Linked DNA regions of Homo sapiens: regions 2 and 3 are each linked to region 1. The links are contacts of gene promoters, found by promoter capture Hi-C in blood cells and fetal thymus (Javierre and others, 2016). All regions are on one chromosome and are shown on one strand. Each heading gives the region's core, a stretch centred on a gene start or on the middle of the fragment in contact. The rest is flanking DNA. Distances are from core to core; before and after follow the strand shown.

Region 1 (3,811 bases), core at 1,259-3,758:
CAATGGCACAATCTCGGCTCACTGCAACCTCTGCCTCCCGGGTTCAAACGATTCTCCTGCCTCAGCCTCCCGAGTAGCTGGGATTACAGGTGCCCACCACCACACCCAGCTAATTTTTGGATTTTTAGTAGAGATGGGGTTTCACCATGTTGGGCAGGCTGGTGGACATCATATATTAATCTGATTTAATCCTCATGACCCTCTTAGTGCTCATGACAGATCAGGAAACTGAGGCCCAGACATCCCCAATGATACGTAGCCAATAGAGCTGGGGTCAAAGCCCAGATCTGACTCCAAAGAGGATGGCAGGAACAGGATGGGACCATGGATGGGATCCCCATGGTGCCAGTGGTCGCCTGCTTCTGGTGACTGTAGCAGGGGATGCTCCTCCATCCCTCTGGTAGCAGCTCTTAGCACAAATTCTTCCTACAGCAACTTGCAGCTTTCCAGAATCTCCACAACTCAATCTACTCTGACATGTTCCTTGAGCATCTCTCTCTGGGCAAGGCCAGAAAGGCCATCCCTGTTCTTATGATGTGGAGGCTGCCCTGAACAGTGAACCCCGGGACCTGATAGGGGAGGCCCTGATGGCAGAGGAGGAGGAAAGAAAAAACCTCCTGACCTCTTGCAGGGCAGTGGGTTGCTGTGAATGTCTCCACCCAGCAGCACTTGACTCAAAAAGTGGGTCAATGACCTTGCCCCTCCCTGGCTACTGCACAGGAAACATGAGAGTAAAGGTGTCCCAGACCATGACTTTTACTACCCCCGGGCCACGCCCCGGGAATTCCTCTGATGCCTCAGCTCTCCCAGCTCACCAGGGGCTAGAGACAGGCGCTGTTTTGGGGTTGGCCCTACAGGGCCCACATCCCACAAAGACAGGTTCCTCAGAGGCCACGATAGGACCTGCTGAAGTCGGAATGGAGGGGGGCTCTGAGCTAGGACAGCCCCTTTTCGGGTCCTCTCCAAGGTCTAGGTGGGGGTGGAGGTGTCTGGATTTTGGCTCCATCCTAGGTCAGTGTCTGACCTCACCTCACACACACAAGGCTTGGCTGGCCGGAGAGGGCCACCGGATGACGTGGTTCCCTGCAGGTCACTAAACACTGAGTCACAGAGGTGGGGTGAGGCCCCACCTGGGGATCTCAACCTTTGGTCCCCAATGTTGATGAAGCCCAGATGGGAGTCAGGGTCCTCCCACTGACTGTTTCTCCTGTCCCCACCCCTCACAACACCGACTCCCAAGCAATTGCACATAAATCCGTAAACCACCCGTGGGGGCCTGCAGGTGGCAGGCAGAGCCTGGTGTGGGGCCCCTGCCCCCAGTGCTCTGTTCCTTCCTCAGTTCATTTTCTACACTGTCTGGTTTTGTCCCAGGGAACTAGGAAAGCACAGAAGTAATTGTAGCCACGCAATTCCAGAACCACCAACTGCAAGCCGTGGAATCCTGGGAGCTGCAGACACAGAACTCGCATCCACAGGACCCCAGAGCCTCAGGCTGCAGAGCGCAGGCCACAGAGCCCTGGAGCCACAGGCTGATCTGCAGCCGGGAGCATCCCAGAACCACAGGACCCAGACACACAGCCCAGGCAATCCGAGCACCAAGGGACTCAAATCTGCAGCTCACAGAGTCTGCAGAGACCACAGCAGGTAGCGCAGCAATCCTGGAACCATGGGAGGCCCAAGAGCAGCCCACTGCTTTCTAGAACCACAGGAGAGGAACGAGCTGTGGGCTCTCAGCACAGAGCTGGGAGGGTGGCCCCAGAGTTCACCTCCTCCTCCAAACACCTTCCACTTACGTATAGGGCTTGGCCTCTAGGGCCCCGCAGCCAGCGCCCCTGAGCGGCCTCCAGGAGTGAAGAGCCGGCCAAGGCCCTGCCAAGGCTGCAGGGCGGGGACACCCAGTGGGGGACGCCCGGGAGGGGAAACCCTTCGGGCGGGCGGACCCTCGGGCCCCCCGGCGCGCAGGCGCACTCACCGGCCGTGTCGTAGAGGTTCAGGGTCACCTCCTTGCTGCCAACGGTCACGCTGGCCGTGTACTTCTCGAACACCGATGGGGCGTAGTGCTGCGGGAGAGGGGGTCGGGTTGGTCCTTAGTGGGGCCGGCGGGGGCCAAAGTTCCAGCTGAATCCACTGTCCACCCCCCTCACTCGTCCCGGATCAGCCCCCCCTCACCCCGCTGGGCTCTGGAATTCCCGAGGGGGCGCCCCGGGGTGGCGGCCGCCTGTCCGTGCTCGGGACGCTGGGGACTGAGGGTCGGGGCTCTGGGCTCAGGGTAAGGGGCGTCCCTCGCCCCCACCCCAGCCCCGCTGCGGGCCTCACCTCGGGGAAGGAGCCCTGGCTGTACACCATGAGCAGCGAGGTCTTGCCGCAGCCGCCGTCGCCCACGATCACGATCTTCAGCTCCTTCCTGCCCGGACCGGGGGCGGCGGTCTGGGCCAGGGCCCCGGGGGCATCCATTGCCCGGAGCCCGCAGCACTGGCGGCGGCGCGCCGGGCACTAGCGGAGCCAAGAGGTCGGGGGCGGGGCGGGGCCGGAACCAGCCCCGCCCACTCGGAGCAGCGCCGCCTCCGCCAGGCAGCCTCCCGGCCGACCTCCCAGCCTCAGTTTCCTTTCTGCTAAGGTCTCAGCCCTGGGTGTGGGTATTCAGCTCTCAGTCCCAGGGATACTGCAGCACCGGAAAAACGGGGCTCAGCTGCGAGCAAAGCTCCCACCCCCAACCCACCGCCACCCTCCGCGCGTCACGTCGCGCCCCTCGCCGGCGAGACCCGATCGTGGCTGCCCAGCGACTCCAGGTGCCCCTGATTAGCAGGCTCCGCCTTCGGCAGGGACCCTCTGATTGGCTGGCGCGGCCAGACAGGGTCTCCCGGATTGGCTGGCTGTGCCTCCGCACCGGGTTCGAGAAGCCCCCGGCCTCCAGCTCCGGGAAGAGCCCCTCAACTTTGCACTGCCCCAGCGGTGTGGCTTGGCACATGTCCGCCTCTGGCCTCAGCTTCCCCACAGGAGGTAGCGGCGGTGGCACCAGGGAAGATGCTGACGCGAGAGTCATGTCTGCCCACCTCGCCTGGGCCAGGGACGCCAGCGTGCACGCGGGTTCGGGGTGAGGGACTGGGCTCCGCTTACCCGCACCCCGACCCTGGGCTGCAGGGTGGACGTCTGACGCCCTCTGCCGGGCAATCGCCTCGGCGCCGGCCGCTCCGGGCGCAGGTTGGCCCGAAACCACTAGGGGCGGCCGCCTCCTTCCGGCAGGAGCCAGAGGCGTGAACCACGCAAGACGTCGTCAGGGAGGGGCAGGTTGGAGTAGCTCTAGTTGAAGTCAACTTGGTCCCTCTCCTGGAGCTTTGGAGACTGATAACCCCACACCCACCAAGAAATGTAAGAAAATGCGTTTCCTTGCCAGCAGCCACATGTCCTTCATCCCAGGAATCCCCCCAACTCTCCCATCCCCTGATCAAAACAGCTTATTTGTTGAGCACTTACTGTAGGCAGTGCTATCAGGGCTGCTGGCTGAATTACCCGTAACCCCCACCCCTCCTCTTACTCCTCACCCTGGGCGGGCTGACTGCCCTCTGCACCACCCAGATGAGTCGACAGGGTGGCAGAGGGACCCCCCCCTGGAGCCGGTCCACGGCAGACAGGCACGAGAGCATGGCCGAGAGTGGGATCCTACCAGCTGGGGTAGGAAGAGCCCATTTCTAACAAAACCCCCAACAGCAGCATGGTTGGGGGCAAGTGGCCTTCGTAGTTTCCTCAGATAGGGGCTGGCAGGACTCAGGATCTTTTTGCTGGCGACCCCACCCCGAAGACTCCCAGTTTT
Region 2 (3,841 bases), core at 1,071-3,570, 290 kb after region 1:
CGGCGAAGCCACAGGGCGACTCCCGGGGCGCGGAGCGGGGCGGGGGCGGGACTAGCACGGCCCCACTCTGCCGACGCCTCTCCCAGGTCGCGACACCGGCGAGCCGCTCCGCCCGGCCACCGTGTCCCTCAGCACCCACGGACGCCGGGAGAGGAGGAGGTGGCGAGGGGCACGGCCGGGAGGCGTGGCCTCCGCTTCCCCTTTTTTTTTTTTTTTGGTCCGCCTAGCTAAGGAAAGGTTCCCCTGCGCCTTTAAGAGGCCGACGCGGGCAGCCGATTGGCCCAGACGCCTCGGTGACGTCACGCCGGGGCCGGAGCCCTCCCCCTCCCGCCGCGCCGCGCGCTCGCGGACAGTCGGCGCGCGGGCCGGGCCGGGCCGGCGCCCCTCTGCCTCGCGCGCTTGTCGCGTTGCCCCGGGCTCCGGGGGATGCCCCCGGCCGAGCCCTTCTCATGGCCGCCGACGTCTTCATGTGCTCCCCGCGCCGGCCTCGCAGCCGGGGCCGCCAGGTGCTGCTCAAGCCCCAGGTGTCCGAGGACGACGACGACTCGGACACGGATGAGCCGTCCCCGCCGCCCGCCTCCGGCGCGGCCACCCCGGCCCGGGCCCACGCGAGCGCCGCGCCACCGCCGCCTCGGGCCGGGCCGGGCCGCGAGGAACCTCCGCGCCGCCAGCAGATCATCCACAGCGGCCACTTCATGGTGTCGTCGCCGCACCGAGAGCACCCGCCCAAGAAGGGCTACGATTTCGACACGGTCAACAAACAGACGTGCCAGACCTACAGCTTCGGCAAGACTAGCTCCTGCCACCTGTCCATCGACGCCTCGCTCACCAAGCTCTTCGAGTGCATGACTTTGGCCTACAGGTAGGGACCCCCGCGACCCCCTGAGGCCCCGGCCGGAGGCCCTTGTTTGACAAAACAAGCGTGGAGGGAAGGGCCGCCTGGCAACCCCGTGGCTTCATGCATTCCCTTTGGGTCTTCCTCCTTCGGGAGGGTTTATGGATCTGGGGTTCCCCGCGTTGCCAGAGGAGCCGGGGTCCTGGCCTCTTCCCCTGCCAGCAGTGCCGGGGTCCTTTCGGGTTCACGTTCCCCATCCAGGCCCTCCCCTCCAGTGTCCTGGGACCACCGATGTTGGACGAGGAAGAGGTATAAACACTGGCTGCATCTTGTGTTACCCGACTCTATCGACTCCTTCCTCCAAACGCTTTGTGTGTTTCCCCCATATCCAGCAGCGGTCAGGACCACCTGTTCGGGGTGACTGGAGGCTGGCTCTGCTGTTTAATGGTTGTGTAACACCTCGGAGCCTGTTTCCTCCTTTATAAAAGGGGAATGACTGTAGTGTCTGCCTCCAAGGGGCTGTTGTGGGGATGGAGTGAGATAGGTAAATTGCTTATTCCAGTGCTTGGCCAGAGTTAGGTGTCCCTGCACCTGGAGGCTGGCCCCCTTACAACCTCATCGGGAGGCCCGCCCCCATCTCGGGAGGGCTTTGGGTGCCTCCTAAGAAGACTTTTGGTGCCACAGCTGTTGGAGGTGCAGTCTGTCCTTCTGGCAAGTTGGAGGGTTTTCTGGCCGGTCCTGAAACATTATATGAGGGAGATGTCATTGTTGAGGGCAGACATCCCAGACACCGTTCTGACATGTGGATTCGGCTCTGGGCAGAGATTCCTCTTTTCCAAGTCACAGAAAATGCCTGGCCCTCAAAGATTAAAGCGCTTTTTCACTCTCTCTCCCTTTCCCACTATGAATATTAGGTATTTGCTGCAGGTAACTTTTTTGTCTGCGCAACAGAACTTCTTTGGACTGGCAGCAGCGGCCTTGAGCAGCTTGGCCCTGCAGAAAGCTCATGATGGGATCTCTGCTGAGTTAAGCTTATTGCATTAGGAACTGGACTAGCGGGGGCTGTCTTAGGTCTGCTCTGGAGGCATCGCGGGAGAAGTTTCCTAGGAGACTCCATAAACAGCGTAATAAAAGAGCAGGAATATCTTGCCCCCTCTCACCTCACCTTTTTAAGAGAGCTGTGAGCCCCAAGCATATCCAGGTTTAAATGTTATGCTTTTACCTGAAGTTAAAATATTAGATACTTAGCCCTGGATGGCACCCCCCTCACCGCCGCGGTCCCTGGAATAAACGATTAGTCAACTTGTTCTTTGTTATGTTCCTGAAACACCCCTATTTCCTCTCTTGAAGGTTTCCCTGATGATCTGTTCCCGTAGCTCCTCCTCCCATCCCCCTTACCCGGCACATTGGTCAGTCTCTGCTGATTCTCTGGTCTTGCCAGTTTGAGCTGGCACTGAGCCTGTAAAGATGTTCTGCTTTTTAAAAAACAAATGGTGTTGAGGCTGCAGCCCTGTGCGCCCTCCAGTCTCTGATTTTGAGCAGTTCCATTGGAATCAAACCCGACTGGATCGCAGCATATGCTATGCCTCGAGAGAGCCTTTTCAAACAAAGCTCGAGGTGAAAGACTGGAATGTATCTTATTAAGAAAACTTAATCCTCTTCTTTATTTTAATATAAACTTCTACATATACAGGGAGAGAATGGATGAGTCACGGGGGGCATGGACTGGAAAGGTCTCACCTAAGTAAGCTCTGCTAAATGAAAACTAAATCAGTCTCCCCTTTGCACTCTTGTTTGGATAACCTAAAGGCTTATTAAACAACACCAAATAATTTTAGTAATGGCATTTTTTTTTTCATTTCTCTCAAAAATATTTTGGCAGCTGGCCGTTGCTCAGTTAACTTTCTTGATTGCAAAATGCACCATCAGTTTGGTGCAAGAAGCTTATCTTGCTCTCTTGGCTCTCTCACTTTCGCTGCTTTTCCCTGTGCCTAAGGTCTCCTGCTGCCTAAGGTCGGCCACCTAAGGTCTACCACCACAGGCCCTCGGATGGGATCTGTCCAGTCATTTCTCATGAAGATGCCCTTTGTCTGTCTGTGTGAGGCTGGTTTGTCCAGTGCTGAGTTTAGTTGGCAGTGTAGAACTTTGGTATGGATGACAGACAAATGACTCAAAACCAGTTGTCTGGGCTGTAGTCTGTGGCACAGAAAGAAACTAGAGGAAGGTGAGTTTCTGACCCCAGCTCTCCTAGTGAGAACTGCTACCTGGCTTTCAGGGAAGGAAGGTTGAGATCGGAGGCAACGCGGGGCGTGGTGGCTCATGCCTGTAGTCCCAGCACTTTGGGAGGCCGAGGTGGGGGATTGCTTGAGCCCAGGAGTTCAAGATCAGCCTGGGCAATGTAGCAAGATCCCCATCTCTAAAAAAGAAAAAGAAAGAAAGAAAAAAAGGGATTGGGGGCAGGGCAGAAAGAAGACTTAACCTCAGAGCCTGTCTGGCTTCCATCCTGGTGGGGTTCATGCCTTCCCTGCCGGCTGTCTGGGTCCTCCCCTCCTGCCCGAGCTGAGAAAGGCCAGCTGGGTCTCCTCTTCTGTGTGACTGTTTCTGGCCTAGGTTCTTTCTAACTTCAACTTCCTGTCTGTCCTCTGGCCTCTTCGTTCTAGCTGTCTAACTCTCCGTGGTACACTCTGCTTTTTGTTGTTGTTGTTTGATTTCCTGTTAGCTGCTGCCTCCCAGCTGTTTCCAGATGAGGTTCAACAGCTCTCTGGGGAGGAACTAAGTGCAGGGGAAGTTGTGGTTATTTTTTACCGAGTCCTGAGAAGTGGCCTAGGGATTCTGACTGTGATCCATTCCTGAACTGGCAGGGCTTCACCTCCTGAAGGGTCTTTGCCCGGGGCTGACTTTGGGTGTGGAACAGGGTGTTTGAGGACTTGGATATGAGTGTGCCCAGGGCCTGCTGGGTAGGGAACCGTGCAGATGGGATTCCTTGTCCTTCTCACTCAGTTTTGC
Region 3 (3,834 bases), core at 381-2,880, 300 kb before region 1:
CAAAGTCAGCGCCTGGCCATTGACTCCACCACCACCCACACATTCAATAGAAACCAAGTCACTAGGGTCCCCTGGGGCCCACGAAACACACAACGTTCCCCTCTGCCCTCTACAAAATTTCTTTAACAAAGCAAATCACATACCTCCCTGTGACTTCCACGTATGTATCACCCATGATCACAGTTATGACATCTAGCACTTGTCCAGAGCGTCGGGGACTCACACACAAACTTTTTCTTTTTTTTTTTTTTTTGAGACAGAATCTTGCTCTGTCACCCAGGCCGGAGTGCAGTTGTATAATCATAGCTCACTACATCCTTGACCACCTGGATCAAGTGATCCTCATGCCTTAGCCTCCTAAGTAGCTGAGACCACAGGTGCATGGCACCCTCCCTGGCTAAATTTTTTTTTTTTTTTTAGACAAAGTCTTACTCTGTCACCCAGGCTGGAGTTCAGTGGCGCAATCTGGGCTCAAGCAACTTCTGCCTCTTGGGTTCAAGCGATTTCCCTGCCCCAGCCTCCCGAGTAGCTGTGAATGCAGGTGTGCACCACCACGCTGGGCTAATTTTTGTATTTTTAGTACAGACAGGATTTTGCCATGTTGGCCAGGCTAGTCTCCAACTCCTGACCTCAAGTGACCCACCTGCCTTGGCCTCCCAAAGTGCTGGGATTACAGGCGTGAGCCAACACGCCCAGCCATAATTTTTAAATTTTTTTGTGCAGACAGGGTATATGCCATGTTGCCCAAGCTTGTCTCAAACTCCTGGCCTCGAGGAATCCTCCCTCCTTAGCCTACCAAAATGCTGGGATTACAGGGGTAAGCCACTGTGCCTCATTTAATTCCTACCAAGCACTCTGGGAGGGCTGGGCGGTGGCACTACGGATCCTCTAATGTTCACAAATTTAACTACGTACTCAGCGAAGCAAACAAAACCAACCTCCAGACCTTGATGCCTTCATAGAGCCATGACTCCGTCCTTTAGTCAGCTTGCTACATGTACCCTAACCCTGCTGTGTGACGACGTGTAAATGTTTTTTGCAACATGGGCCCTAAATACAAGAAGATGCTTGATCTGGTCTGACTGAGGATGGAGTCACGTGGCCAAATTGTGGCAGAAAAATGGGCTGCGTTGGACGGACTGCCAGGCTGCTTGGCGATCTCCCACGAGGCACACTGTGTTCACTCTCGGTGAGCAGTTTGAAGGTTCTTCAAAGGGAATTCTCACTCTGCCAGACTTTGGCCTTGTGTGGCTGGACTTTAGAACATCATCCAGGTATAAAATGCTACCCAGCTGAATTATCTAACAGCTAACTTACAGGGGAGGTTACCAAGGCCCAGAAAGGCTCACAGGATTTTAGTGCTACCCCAAACTATGAAGACAGACCCCCAGAACCCCACTCTCTGGCACCAGACTTTCTGCCCCAGGACCACCCACATAGGGTTTTTTTTGGCTACATCCACACATCCACAGCACCCCACAAAAAAATGTGTTTAAGCACACACAGAACTATCACTGGCCCATTCTGATCCTGGACCACGGATTGTTGAATTGTACAAAAACATTTTTTCCGGACATTTAAGAACAGAGTAAATCATACAGAAGCACTGAGCAGGAAGAGCAGAAGCGCTCAGGAGACAAATGAAGGTGAAGATTATTTTAATTCACCTTTCCTAATTCACTTCACTAGAAATGACTCCAGCTTACTTCCAGTTTACTCTGCTCATTGTCCTTTTTTTTTTTTTTTTTTTTTGAGACAGGGTGTGACTGTCACCCAGGCTGGAGTGCAGGGGCACAATCTCAGCTCACTGTAGCCTCAAACTCCTGGGCTCAAGTGATCCTCCCACCTCAGCCTCCTCAGTAGCCGGGACTACAAGTGCGTAACACCAAGCCCAGCTAATTGTATTATTTGTACAGATGGGTTCTCACCATGTTGCACAGGCTGGTCTTGAATTTCTGGGCTCAAGCAAAACACCTGCCTCAGCCCCCCAAAGTGCTGGGAGTGCGGATGTGAGCCCCCCAAAGTGCTGGGATTGCGAGTGTGAGCCTCCCAAAGTGCTGGGATTGCAGGTGTGAGCCCCCCAAAGTGCTGGGATTATAGGTGTGAGCCCCCCAAAGTGCTGGGATTGCAGGTGTGAGCCCCCCAAAGTGCTGGGATTATAGGTGTGAGCCTCCCAAAGTTCTGGGATTGCAGGTGTGAGCCACTGCACGCCTATCATACTTTCCTGATCATAATTTGCTTGCATGATTTTTCTTTTTTTTTTTTTGAGTGATTTTTCAAGATGTGGCTGTTAACCTGAAGAACTTCCTCCTTAGCCCACAGGAAACAGCAAACAGCACAGTGGTCAAGAATGTTGGCTCTAGAACTGGCTCCAGGGGTTTAAATCCCAGCCCCGGCACATACAGCTTCCCCAAAGTCCCATAGTCAATGTCAATGATTTGTAAATGCTATTTATAAAGTGTCTTTATTCACTGCTATATCCTCAAAGCCTCACATAATGACTAACCTAGAGTAAGCTTCCAATAAACAAAGTTGGGTTTTGTTTGTTTGTTTGTTTTTTGAGATGGAGTGTTACTCTGTCACCCAGGCTGGAGTGCAGTGGCACCATCTTGGTTCACTGCAACCTCTGCCTCCCAGGTTCAAGCGAGTCTCCTGCCTCAGCCTCCTGAGTAGCTAGGATTACAGGCGTGTGCCACCACCCCTGGCTAATTTTTGTTATTTTTAGTAGAGACAGGGTTTCACCATGTTGGCCAGGCTGGTCTCAAACTCCTAGCCTCAAGTGATCCACCCGCCTCGGCCTCCCAAAGTGCTGGGATTACAGGTGTGAGCCACCGCACCTGGCCCCAGAGTTTTTATAAAATAAAGCCACAAATACTAAAAGAGGGACAGTCTACAAAATGCCTGAACAGATCTCCTCAAAACTGTCAAGGTCATCAAAACAAGGAAAGTCTAAGAAACTATGGCAGCTAAGAGAAGACTGATGAGACTAAATGTAATATTGTACCTTGGGTGGGATCCTAGAACAGAAAAAAAAGTAAAAATGGTTTAACTCTGGCCAGTTGCGGTGGCTCACGCCTGTAATCCCAGCACTTTGGGAGGCCAAGGCGGGTGGATCACTTGAGGCCAGGAGTTAGACCATCCTGATCAACATGGAGAAACCCCATCACTACTAAAACTACAAAAATTAGCCAGATGTGGTGGTGTGTGCCTGTGGTCCCAGCGACCTGGGAAGCTGAGGTAGGAGGATCACTTGAACCCAGTAGGCAGAGGTTGTAGCGGGCCGAGACCATGCCACTGCACTCCAGTCTGAGAAACAGAGTAAGACTTTGTCTCAAAATAAATAAATAAATAAATAAATAAAGTTTTTCCCTCTTTCTAAAAAATCATTAAGAACAAATGAGCTTTCCAGAAATACACTCAGGTTTAGCCAGAGACCTCCCATTCCCCCCTGCATGTGGGCCCCAAATGGCTGGGGGAGAAGACCGTCACTTCCACAGGACATTTCAGCCACTTAGTCCAATCCCAAACTCTAGGATTGGGTAACAAATTCAAGATGTAACCGGACTGGAACAATAGGGAACGGTGAGGCCTGTGACAAACTGGAAAACACATGGCCCATTTAAAAAGGGGCAAGGCTACCCAACTCCAGCTTACCTCCTATGGGGATGAAAAGCCCACCAGATCTTTAATTTTTCAGAAGAAATCAAAGATGCAGAGTTTTATTTGAAATCTCTGCATTTTTAAATGTTAACAACTAACTAAAACTTTAAAAAACCCACTGTGAGTGAAACATCTGTGTGCTGGTTTGGCCCATGGGCCACCAATTTGCAAAGA

What was found. Contacts are between HindIII fragments. The CHiCAGO score rates a contact against its expected background, and 5 or more counts as called.
Region 2: a fragment that was not itself captured here is called in contact with the fragment with the promoter of RHOF in region 1 in 1 of 17 cell types (fetal thymus); the score reaches 5.3 in fetal thymus.
Region 3: a fragment that was not itself captured here is called in contact with the fragment with the promoter of RHOF in region 1 in 6 of 17 cell types (naive CD4 T cells, total CD8 T cells, naive CD8 T cells and 3 more); the score reaches 7.9 in naive CD4 T cells.

Annotation. Positions count from the first base shown.
Region 1 is chr12:121,791,180-121,794,990 of GRCh38, forward strand. RHOF (ras homolog family member F, filopodia associated) reads right to left here and starts at 2,509. Exons shown (of 5, transcript NM_019034.3): 1 at 2,317-2,509; 2 at 1,973-2,060. The coding sequence starts at 2,454. It also overlaps a transcript of SETD1B not described here. RefSeq lists enhancers at 1,580-2,411, 2,417-2,957, 2,904-2,953, 3,498-3,811 and a silencer at 1,884-2,423. The HindIII fragment of the contact is 6,952 bases long and covers 1-3,811 here.
Region 2 is chr12:122,078,405-122,082,245 of GRCh38, forward strand. It overlaps MLXIP (MLX interacting protein), which reads left to right and starts at 352. Exons shown (of 17, transcript NM_014938.6): 1 at 352-862. The coding sequence starts at 450. RefSeq lists silencers at 1-174, 185-634 and enhancers at 695-934, 2,802-2,851, 2,922-2,971. The HindIII fragment of the contact is 912 bases long and covers 1,865-2,776 here.
Region 3 is chr12:121,494,763-121,498,596 of GRCh38, forward strand. The region is part of intron 11 of KDM2B (lysine demethylase 2B); the gene reads right to left. Among named protein-coding and RNA genes, the nearest start is that of MIR7107, 52 kb to the left of the region's middle. The HindIII fragment of the contact is 1,767 bases long and covers 748-2,514 here.